Regions from separate parts of the Homo sapiens genome. Here region 2 is linked to region 1. The links are contacts of gene promoters, found by promoter capture Hi-C in human tissues and cell types (Jung and others, 2019). All regions are on one chromosome and are shown on one strand. Each heading gives the region's core, a stretch centred on a gene start or on the middle of the fragment in contact. The rest is flanking DNA. Distances are from core to core; before and after follow the strand shown. Region 1 holds the start of HOXD11 (homeobox D11). Region 2 overlaps LOC105373760 (a long non-coding RNA gene).

Evidence for each region. Contacts are between HindIII fragments. The study calls those that stand out against the background at their distance.
Region 2: a contact is called between a fragment that was not itself captured here and the fragment with the promoter of HOXD11 in region 1, in 1 of the 25 tissues and cell types used here (lymphoblastoid cells).

Annotation. Positions count from the first base shown.
Region 1 is chr2:176,103,322-176,108,775 of GRCh38, reverse strand. It overlaps HOXD11 (homeobox D11), which reads right to left and starts at 1,496. Exons shown (of 2, transcript NM_021192.3): 1 at 640-1,496. The coding sequence starts at 1,420. RefSeq lists an enhancer at 3,640-4,626. The HindIII fragment of the contact is 4,264 bases long and covers 954-5,217 here.
Region 2 is chr2:177,110,192-177,116,117 of GRCh38, reverse strand. All of the region lies in intron 1 of LOC105373760 (a long non-coding RNA gene), which reads left to right. Among named protein-coding and RNA genes, the nearest start is that of MIR4444-1, 100 kb to the left of the region's middle. The HindIII fragment of the contact is 4,980 bases long and covers 1-3,908 here.

The DNA.
Region 1 (5,454 bases), core at 247-2,746:
CCCTGCCTGCGTCGTGGGGGATGATATATGGGCGGGCACAGGAGAGAGTGCGGGCGTGGACATGTGTTCACGCCCGGACACACACACACACACACACACACACACACACACACACAGAGCCTGGCACGGAGGTGGGGAAGCAGAGGGCAAGGCAGGCTCTAAACTGGAACCTGAGGGAACAGAGACAAGAGCAGGCCCGCCGGGGCATCTGCTTGACTCCAGCGGCGCGCGTCAGCTAGCGGCTTGGATAAAGTCCAGTGCAAGGATCAAACTCCCCCCACTTCCCCACCCCCCGCCTCTCTCCCTTAAAAGCAGGAGGCTCCGGTGTATGCACTCACACTGGCTTGAAATCTCCCTCCCTCCCTCCCTCCATGGTATCTAGCAACCCCCTGCCCAAAACTGGGAAAAGGCTCTCGACAGCTATTAATGTCCTCCTCGAAGTCTACCTTAAGCCCACCTAAATTGGTTTCCTACCATAAACACACTTTACAACGGCCCAGGAAATCTTATAGGATGTATAAACCTCTTCGAATGCTTATAAAGTAGCACATAAAAAGGCGCAAGCAGAGGGAGGCCTCCGCCCCCCCCCCCTCCCCCGCGGCCCCCGGGCCCACCGCTTGCCCAGTACCCGGTGCCTACCTGCGCTGCTGCTCTTCTCGGCCCCCGCCTCTCCCGGGGGGCCCTCGCCGTCGCCACCGCTGCCTTCTGCTGCCCCCTTGGGCTCCGAGCCAGGGGTCGCCTTGGTGCAGGGACTGCCCCCGCCGCCACCAGCCCCGGTCCTGGGGTCGCCCTTGTCGGCTGCGCCCTCGGGCTGTGGCGGCGCGGGTGGCGGCGGGGGCTGCGGCCCGGCGAACGGGGGCCCGGGCGCTGCCTCGTAGAACTGGTCGAAGCCCTGTGGCAAGATGCCATTGCGGCCCACCGCGCTGTAGAAGTTGGAGGCGGCGCCCGCGGGGCCGTGCGGCGGCCCCGGCGCAGCGCACACCGGCTCAGGCGCCTTGAAGAGCACGTCCGGCCGGCGGCCCGCGGGCGGGAGAAGCTCGCGTTGCATGGCCGCCTCCTCGGCCGCCGCGGCCGCCGCAGCCGCCGCCGCCGCCGCCGCGTAGTAGGGAGCGTAGCCCCCCGCGCCGCCGCCGCCCCCGCCGGGGCCGCCCCCGCTGCTGCCGCCCCCCGCGCTGCCGCCGCCGCCGCCGCCGCGGTACGGCCACTTGGCGCGCTCCAGGCCGTAGTCGCGGAAGGCCACTTCGCGCACGGGCTGGACGTGCGGAGCCAGGTTGGAAGAGTAGGGGAAAGTCATCTGGCAGGACGACGGTTGGGAAAGGAACGAAGGCTTGCTAGCGAAGTCAGACGGGGCCACATAGTAGGCGCAGCCCGGCAGGTACATGCTGGCTGCGCTCTGGCCGCACTCGTCAAAGTCGTTCATGACTCCGCGGCGTGCGCGCCAGCGAGCCTCTGGCCGCTCCCCGCGCAGCCAACCTGAGCCATCGATTGCACAAGAGGCTTGGGCCAGGATCAACTAAGCAAAAATCCCCACCGGGCGCTGACGTGCAATTCATCTTGATTGATTCTGGTGGTAATTATGTCACGTGACGCCATGAAGAGAAATGTCCTTATATCTATATCAACGCTCGCCAACACGCCCCGGGACGGCTCCTGGCGCCGAGACGCGCGCGCTGGGGGCGGATCGGCTGCCCTCTGCCGCCAGCTCTCCCCGGGCGCTCCCTGACCAGGCTGCGCCTCAGGCCGGTCACCTGCGCGCCGCTGGCCGCTGTCACCGCTGGGCGCATCTGCCACCGCCCGAACGGGCCGCCCGCCCGCGTCCGCCCTCCCGCGCCGCTTTAAGTACGCGGACCGAGGCCGGCGGGGAGGAGGAAGGAGGGGGAAGAGGGGGAGGAAGGGGGAAGGGAGAGAAGCAGCGAGCAGAGGGGGGGAAGCCCCGGCTCCAGGCTCCCTAGAAGCTAGGAACTAGGTGTGAGGGTGTGAGGTTCCGAACCCCACCCCCCTTACTGCAGCCGCTCCCTCCCCCGCGACTCTGCCACCCTCTGCAGCTCACCCGCCTGGGAGCTTGTTGCTTCTTGTTCACCGGGCGGGAGTAATTTCGCCACTCTCCAGGGCGCAGGGAGCCCTGATTTACATATTTTTCTGCCCAGCGCGTTCAGAGTGGAGTGACTTGGCTCTTTCCGGTTCTGACCCCAAGGGTGCGAGTGCTGGCCTCGGAAAAACCCAGGCCATTCACCACCTAGGCACTCACCCAGGCCGGGGCCTTCGTGCCCACCCGGCTCTCTTCCCTTCTCTCTGGTTTCCCTCTCTGTTCTTGTCTCTCTTTCTCCTTGCCTCGTTTCTCTTCAGTCTTCTCCCTTCTCTCTCCTGTCTTCACTTCTCTCCTTCCTCTTCTTTTCCGCTTTCCTTCTTCCTTCCTCTTGCTTTCCTGTCTCCCTTCTCCTCTCTCTCTCTGTCCTCTCATCCTCTCCCCTCCTTTCCTCTAAGCTGTGTGTCACTGTCTCTGTCTCTCTCCCCGTTGCCTCTCTGCCTTCTCCTTCAGCACTGAAGCCAGGAGGGGGCTCAGCCCGTGGTCCCCAGCCTCCCTAGAATCTGGGGAGTCTGGTGAACAAAAGGATCTGGAGTCCTACTCTTAGGGTGCTTGGCTTCCCGCTGGCTCCCCACAAGAGACAACCCCCACACACTCGCACCTTCGTCCTCCTCACCCCTCTGCTTTCAGGCCTAGCCTGGGTGTCCGCCTTATACCTAGACCCTTCACTGCTTCGGAGCCCCGCCAAGGCCTGCGAATCCACGCCGCGTTTCCCCGAGGCTCTTCTGGTACCCTTGGGTCTGCATGGTCACTTCAGCCCCTCCCCCAAGATAGGTTGTCTCTCTAAGGGCTCTCAGCGGAGCCTGACTCCCTCCTGGAGCCCCTCTGTGTCACCTGGCTCTGAGGCAGACTCTTCGTGGGGCACCCCATCCACTCCCCCAAGGCCTCACTCTCCTCCCAGCCTGCCGCGACCCTCTCCTAGCCCATGGGTCCAGGCAAGGCCTGGGATCCCACCTCCGAGTGAGCAGACGCTTTTCAAAGGTAAACCGTCTCTTCCCAAACCCAAATCCCAGAACCGAGGGCAGGAGGCTGCCCCTTTCCCCAAGATTCCTCCGCCCAGGCAATCCCAGCGCTGGGGCCTGGGCCTCAGTCCTATACCCAGGGCAGGCGGCGCTGGCTGTGATGCTGGTTCCCTCCCTGGCCCGGGCTGCTGCAGTGCCGGTGCTGTGCGCTCTGCCCACCGTGCGGACAGACAGAGAAAAGGCGGGTGGTCTGAGCTAATATCTATTTTCTGGCTGATGTACCCCCCCTTCCTCTTTTTCTCCTCCCTCCCTTTCTCCCTTCCTCTCTCCTTCCTCCGCCCCTTCCCATGTCTTCTTCCCTCCCCCAACACTGCGCAAATAGGTCTGTGGCGACTGGAGGGCATCGAGCCTCCCCCAACTAGAACTGCCCATCTTGTGTGCTCCCTCCCCGCAGCTGGCACCCCCGCCCAGATTCCAGCTGACATTCTTCTCCTCAACCCAGACCCCCAGCACACTTATCTGCCTCCCCATCTCCATCCCAGGCCCAAGCCTCTCCCTTTCGGGCTCGTGGTCGACGCCCCTGGATCTCTCTCCTAAAATGGCTCCCTGGACGCTGCACACTGGCCCTGCGGTAGCTCAGGACCCAGGGCAGCTGCGAGGACTTCAACCCGGGTCTTTATGTGTCTGGGGATTCGCAAAATTCTCGCACCTTCTCTCTACTGGCGGCACGGGGTGGGGTGCAGGCAGCCCGGCGCCCCCAGTATGGAGCCTGCTGACCGCCGAAGAGGGAAAAGGGGAGGACGAACCATTCAAGTTCAACGACATGGCGACGGCAGCTCCGGCGGGAGCAGCGATTTGGCGGGGGAGGGTGAGCCATCTGCAGTGGCGCGCCGGTGCATAGGGGAAGGGGGCGGCCGGCCCCTTTCGGCTCCTTAGCGCGGACCCTTGCCCCCCGACCCACTCCACAACCCAGAGCGCTTTCATTCCAGTCCCAGCCCGCTTGGCTCTTTGGCCCCAGCTCCCTCCTAGTTCCTACCCCCATTCCCCAAACCCAGGGAAAACCGCAGCCTCCGGACCCGCGCGTCCCGCTCGAGAACCTACCGTGAAGACCCCGACTCTGTGGCCTTGTCCTTGCCTGCGCGGCCCCACCCGAAACGCAGGGAGCGCACCAGGCCTTCGGGGCGCAGCCAGCCGCTCCGCGAGAAAGAGCTTTCCGCACAGCGCCAGGACGCGATGCGGTGATTTTGAGTCACCCAAGATAAGACACTAACTTGACCTTAACTTTGTCAGGGCGCCCCTGGTATCTGGAGAACGTGAACAGACACTGTCTGGCAGCTCTCGTAAAAGCTGACTGGGGAAGGGATTCTGAGTCATTTCATTTATTGCCACTACAGTTCTGCAAGAAAGCTTTTCCTCCCTGCCAAACTTTAATTATTTATGCTCTTTTAAGAAACGAAAGAAGAGAAATGCAGGGAAAACACCCAGAGCCAGTTCCTTCCCTACAGAGCCTTCGGAATGGACTTCTTAAGTCAAGCGACTGGAGAACAAAAATATGGGGAGATCACCTTTGTCTAAGGACAGTGGGGCAGTCGCCTTGCCCTCCCCCACTATCACTGAGGGGGGAATGCAGCTGGGAGAGGCGGGTGAAGGGTGAAGGGGCATCCCCCCACATGAATATTTACAACGGTTCCAGATTTCTCTTCCACCCGCCGGCATCCCGGAAGCCTCCTCAGCCCGCCTCCCTGGGGGAGAACCCCCAGGCCTTAAAAGCGTCCCCCCTTCCCCGCCGCCCTCTGAGTTCCCAACTGATTGAATGCCAGATGAAGCTGTTTTTTTCTCGTTTTAAAACTGTTTTCTTGGTCAAGAGGCCCGCTTGGACTGCAGCATTTCAGAGGACACATTTGTCTTTCTGAAGGGAATGTTGAGCACTCAGATTTTAGCGTCCTTTCTCTTCGGCTTTTTTTTTTTTTTTTTTTTTTTAACAAATTTCCTAGTGGTTCCAAATCTCTGCGGGAACCCGGGCTATGGAAGGAGACACCAGAGTCTTTGTATTTGTGTGAAATAGCAAACGGGATAGATTTGGAAAAGACTGCTGAACCAAGAGATACGCTTTTATATTTAGAATAATTTAATTTTCTTTGAGGAGTGATCTCCATGAATATCCCCTCCCCCCACTCATCCCAGGCTAAAGGGAAAGAACACGATGATTTAATGATATATTTTGGAAAGAAACGGCCTCCGTGTTTTCTGTCTTAAGGCCTGGATCTGAGTTCATATGCTTTCCTCCTCCTTTCCCCAGCCTTCCGAGCGCTCAGTGCGGCTTCAGCCTTTGTTCAGTTGTTTTTGAGGAGGCAAACCTCTGAATGCAGACTCAGACTTGGAGATCCTGCTCTGGGTACCATCGCC
Region 2 (5,926 bases), core at 169-2,668, 1.0 Mb before region 1:
GACTACTTATGCCTCATTTTTCTGCTTGGTTGTTTGTCATTCCTACTGATTTGCAAACATTTAAAATATTTTTTGCATTTTAATACTTTGTTAGCATGTAGCAATCATCTCTCAGTTTGAACTTGTCCCTTCACCATTTATAATGCTTTTTGATAAACAGAAGACATTGATTTTAATGTAGTCAATAATTTCCTTTATAACAAATCTTTTATGTCTGGTTTAAGAGCTACCTTAGTTTGAAATCATAAAGGTGTTCTACTATATCGTCTTCCAAAAGTTTTACATTCTTGCCTTTCACATTAGGTCTTTAATTTATCTGGAACTGATTTTTGTTTTTTGCATGAGGTAGGAGTCAATTTAATTTTTTTTATATTGAAACAAATTGTTCCAGCACTATTTTTTTAATGCATTTTTTTCCAACTGACCTTCAACAGCACCTCTGTCATATGTTAAATGGCAATTATGTGTGGGGTTGTTTCTGGACTTTTTATGCTGCTCCATTGGTCTGAGGTTCTGTGCTCCCATCCCTTCTTGAAAAATACCTATTACATTGTATATCTCTTCATTAATTAAAGTCTTCTTTAATATCTTTCAATAATGTTTTGTACTTTTCTCCCTGAAGTCTTGTGTATCTTTGGTAGATTTATTCCTAAGCACATCATATTTTTGATGCTATAATAAATGTCTTTTAAATTTTTTCTGCTTATTATGGATGCCTAGAAATACAATCAATTTTGAATAATGATTTTATTTTAGCATATTTATTTAACTTTTAATTTTAATAATTTATCTTTATGGAAAATCATATCAATTTTGAATAATGACAGATTTGTTATTTCATTCTGAATCCTTAGACCTTTTATTTTTTTCCTTGCTTTCTTGTATGTACTGTATTGAGTATCCAGCATAACCTTGCGTCAAAGTAGATAGAGATAGTACAGAAACTTACTTATGATATTTAAATGGAATGCTTTCAAAATTTCAAAATTGAATATGATGTTTGCTGCAAATTTTTGGGTAGATGTCTAGTATCAGAGTAAGGAAGTTCACTTTAATTCACAGTTTACTATAAATTTTTACTATAAAGGATTGTTGGAGTTTTATCAAATGCTTTTTATGCATTTGTTGAGATAGTCATATGATTTTCTTTCAATAGTTAATGTAGTCAGTTATATTTTTTTCTTCTTTAATTCACTTTGATTTCCGAATAAACCCATTTGGCCATAGTGCGTGCGTGTGTGTGTGTGTGTCTGTGTGTAATTTTAATACTTTGAGGGATTCAGTTCGTTAGTGTTTTATCTGGGATTTTTGCATTTATATTCATGAGTAAGATTGGTCTGCAAATTCCTCCTTTTGAATGTCAGTGTTGAATTTTGGTATCGAGGTTATACTAGCTTTAGAAAATGCGTTGAGTAGTATCTTTTTTTTTTTTTTTGCCATAATCTGATACAGTTTGCGTAAAATTGAAATTGTTTCTTGAATGGTTGTTATCAATAAACTCTCCTGGACCTCATCCTTCGTTTAGGGAAAGATTTTAAACTAATGACTAAATTTCTTTAGGAGTTATAGGACCATTCAGTTTTTGCTTTCTTCTTGAGTCAGTTTAAATAAATTCTATTTTATAGGAATCATTTCAGCTACATTTTCAAGTTTATTGGAATAATGCTCATACATCTCCTAATTATCTTATGTCTCTAGCATTAGAATTTATGCCCCCTTTTAATGTCATACATTTATGTAATATTATCATTTCATAACCATACTATTTTAATTTTCATTTTGGGGTCATCTCTCTTGTTTCTTATTATAAGAAGTTTGTAAATTTTACTAGCTTTTTCAGAGAACCAACTTTTGACTATTAAATATTTTATTTCCTATCCATTAATTTTTATTTCTATTATTTCCTTCCTTCTCTTTTCTTTGGGTTTATTCTGCTCTTCCTATACTAACTTCTTAAGATGTATATAGTTTTCATTACTTATTAGATTTTCTTTTTTTATACTTTGAACATTTAAAGCTATACATTTTCCTCTAAGTTTCCTTTAGCTTCTTTCTTTCACTTATAATGTAAGTTTTGATGTGTAATATTTTATTTGTTATCAGGTCTGAATGTTTCCTGATGTTCATTATGATATCTTCTTTGATCCTTAAGTAATTTAGAAGGACATTTTAAAATTTCCAAACATATAGGGATTTTTCTAATTATGTATTTTTTTGGGTTGCAAATCCATTGTGGTCAGAGAGCTTGATCTGTATGATACTATTTATCTTTTCAGAAACCCAGTCTGTGTGTGATACTATATACATATTTATATATAATATATTATATCTTATAAGATATATAATATATCTTATATAATTATATAATTAATATATATCTTATAAGATATATATTATAAGCTATAATATATAGATATATATTTATACATATATTTTAATTTTTGGAAGCTGCTTTATAGTTTAACATTTGATTAAAATATTCCATGAATGCTTGGGAAAAATGTTTATTTTGAGTCATTGAAGGCCTGGTGTGGTAGCTAACTCCTGTGATCATAGCACTTTGGGAGGCTGAGGCAGGCAGATCACTTGAGGTCTGGAGTTCAAGACCACCTTGCCCAACATGGTGAAACCCTATCTCTACAAAAGTACAAAAAAAATAGCCAGGCATGATGGCATGTGCTTGTAATCGCAGCTACTTGGCAGGCTGAGGCAGGAGAATCGCTTGAACCGTGCCACTGCACTCCAGCCTGGGTGACAGAGTGAGACTCTACCAAAAAAATAAATAAATAAATAAAAAAGAAAAAAAGAAGAAAAAAACAGTGTTGAGTCATTGAGGACAGTTTCATATATACCCATTAGTTTACATTTATTTATTGTGTTGTTTGAATCTTCTATAAAACTACTAGTATTTATGCCTTGTTTCAGTAGTCAGTTTCTGAAAGTGTGTTGAAATCTCTCAATATGTCAGTTTCTCCATGTGGTTCTGTCAATTTTACTTTATATATTTTGGGGCTGTAATTAGGAATAATTACATATATGAATATGTAATTAATATCTCCCAGATGATTAAAATTTTAATAATTAGGTCATGGTTGTCTTTGTGTTCAATAATATTTATTTGTCTATAAATACATTTGTCTACTGGAACTGGCAGGTTTCTTTTGTTTAGTATTTGCTTCGTACATTCTTCTCTACATTTTTACTTTAATATCTTCAATCTTCCTGTATTCTTAAGCTTTACACTTGTCTCTTATAAACAGAATAAAGCAAGATTAAAAAAAAATGGCTTGACTTTGTCTTCCAACTGAAGCAGTTAGTCTATTTATATTTATTATAATTGTAGACATATTTAGATTTGTTTTTACTGCCTTCTATGTTTTATATTTTTTCCACATTTTCTATACCACTTATTTTCTTCTTCCTTGTCCTTTTCTGAATTGATTATATTTTTTCATATTCTATTTTTTTCTCTACTAGTTTGGAAGTTATACCTTTTGTTTCTGTGTTTCAGTGGTATAAAAAATTTTAGCTTGCATGCTTAATTCATTAGTTGCTTTATGGTCTCCCCAATAATATAAGACTTAGAACACTTTAAATTCAATTATGCCTTGTGTGCTATTGTTGTTATGTATTTTCATTCTATCGTGTTTTTTAACCCCGCATAATATTGTGTTTTATGTAGTTAACTTTTTAAATATTTACTGCTTTTTTTTCTCTTTATTCCTTTGCAAACATCTTTAGTGAGGGTGTGCTAATGGAAGATGTTTTCCGTCTTTATTTGTCATAAAAATGTCTTCTTAATTTGTTCTCTTAAAAAGTATAATTTACTGTATATAGATTACCAAGTTAATAATTATTTTCTCAGCATATGTTATTCTACTCCATTCTTGATTACATTGTTATTGGTGAAGTCAGCTGTCAGTCTCACTGTCTTTAAGGTAATCTATCTTTTTTTCTCCGGCTGCTTTTAGTATATCTTTGTCTTTAGATTCTGTGATTTTACTATGATGTACTTAGGTGTGAATTTCTTTTTATTTTTCCTATTTGGGATTTGTAGAAATCTTGAATCTATGGGTTATTTTTTCTCATCAGTTGTGGAAAGTTCTTAGTCATAATCTCCTCAACTATTGCTGCCACCTCCTTCTCACTCCTTTCTTATGTTTTGGAACTCTGTTTAGACATAAGTTAGCCTGTCTTACTCTAATATCATAATCTTTTAAGTGCATTTAAAGCCTACATTTTCCAGCCTTCCTTACATCTTTGTGTGGCCATGTGCATGAACATTTTCAGGCCAAGGCTTTTAGGAAGTAATGTGTCCCCTTTATGCTCTTTCCCCTAATGTTAGCTGAATACAGACAATATGGAGGCCTCAGGCTCAGAGGATGGCAGAGTCTTCAGATGGATGGAGGGAGCTGCAGTCACTGAACCACTGCAGGGAGAGAAGTACTCACAGACCAGGAACGCTCAACTTGGACTGTTATGTGACAGAGTAATAATAAACTTCTATTTTGGTTTGAGTAATGTTGTGTTTTGGGTTTATCTGTTTCTGCAATCTAGCTTACTACCTTAATGAATATAAGCTTTCTTTCCATTAAAAAATTTATTAATGTATAAATCACATACCATACAGTTCACTCACTTAAAGTGTACTATTTAATGGCTTTTGATCTATTTCATTGTTAATTTTTAGAAATTATGTTAAAGTATATATAACACACAATTTTTTATTTTAACTATTTTTAGATGTACAATTCAGTGGCATTAATTACAGTCACAATGTTGGACAACCATCACCACAATTTCCAAAATTTTTCTTAGATGAAAATTCTGAAACCATTATGCAATAACTTCCCATTACCCACTCCTTCCAGCTCCTGGAAATCTTTAATTTACTTTCTGTCTCTATAAATTCAACTATTTTAGATATTTCATGTAAGTGGAATCATGCAATATTTGTCCTTTTGGGCTTGGCTTATTTTACTTAGTATAATGGTTTTAAGATTCATGTTGTAGCATATATCAAAAATTCATTCCTTTTTATTATTGTCTCTCTCTCTGTCCATATATATATATACACATATATATGGGTTATTTCCAACTTTTGGCTATTATGAATAATGCTGCAGTGAACATTGCCCTACAAATATGTGTTTCAGTCCCTGCTTTCAGTTCCCTTGTGTATATAACTAGGAGTGGAATTGCTGGTTCATATGATAATTCTATGTTTAGCTTTTTGAGGAAAAATGTTCTGTTAAATTTTTTTTTTTTTTTTTGAGACGGAATTTTGCTCTTGTTGCCCAGGCTGGAGTGCAATGGTGTGATCTTGGTTCACAGCAACCTCCGCCTCCCGGGTTCAAGCCATTCTCCTGCCTCAGCCTCTGGAGCAGCTGGGATTACAGGCATGCACCACCATGCCTGACTAATTTTGTATTTTTGGTAGAGACGGGGTTTCTCCATGTTGGTCAGGCTGGTCTTGAACTCCCGACCTGAGGTGATTCGCCCGCCTTGGCCTCCTAAAGTGCTGGAATTACAGGCGTGAGCCACCGTGCCCAGCCTCTGTCAAATATTTCTATAGCTGCTGCATCATTTTACATTTCTACCAGCAATGTGTGAGGGTTCCAATTTCACCACATCCTTGTTAACATTGTTATTTTCGGTTTTTAAAACTGTAGCCATTCTAGTAGATGTGTAGCCATTCTAGTAGATGTGAAGTGGCATATCACTGTCCTTTTGATTGAATTTCCCTGATGACTAATGATGTTGCGCATCTGCTTATTTTGTTTTCAAATTGTCATTTTATTTTTTATGTTGTTGGTTGTTGGAAATATAGTTAGTGATTTTTCATATGTTTATTGGCCATTTGTATATGTTTGAAGAAATGTCTATTCAAGTCCTTTGCGCCATCCCCCCTTTTTTTGTTTCTGAG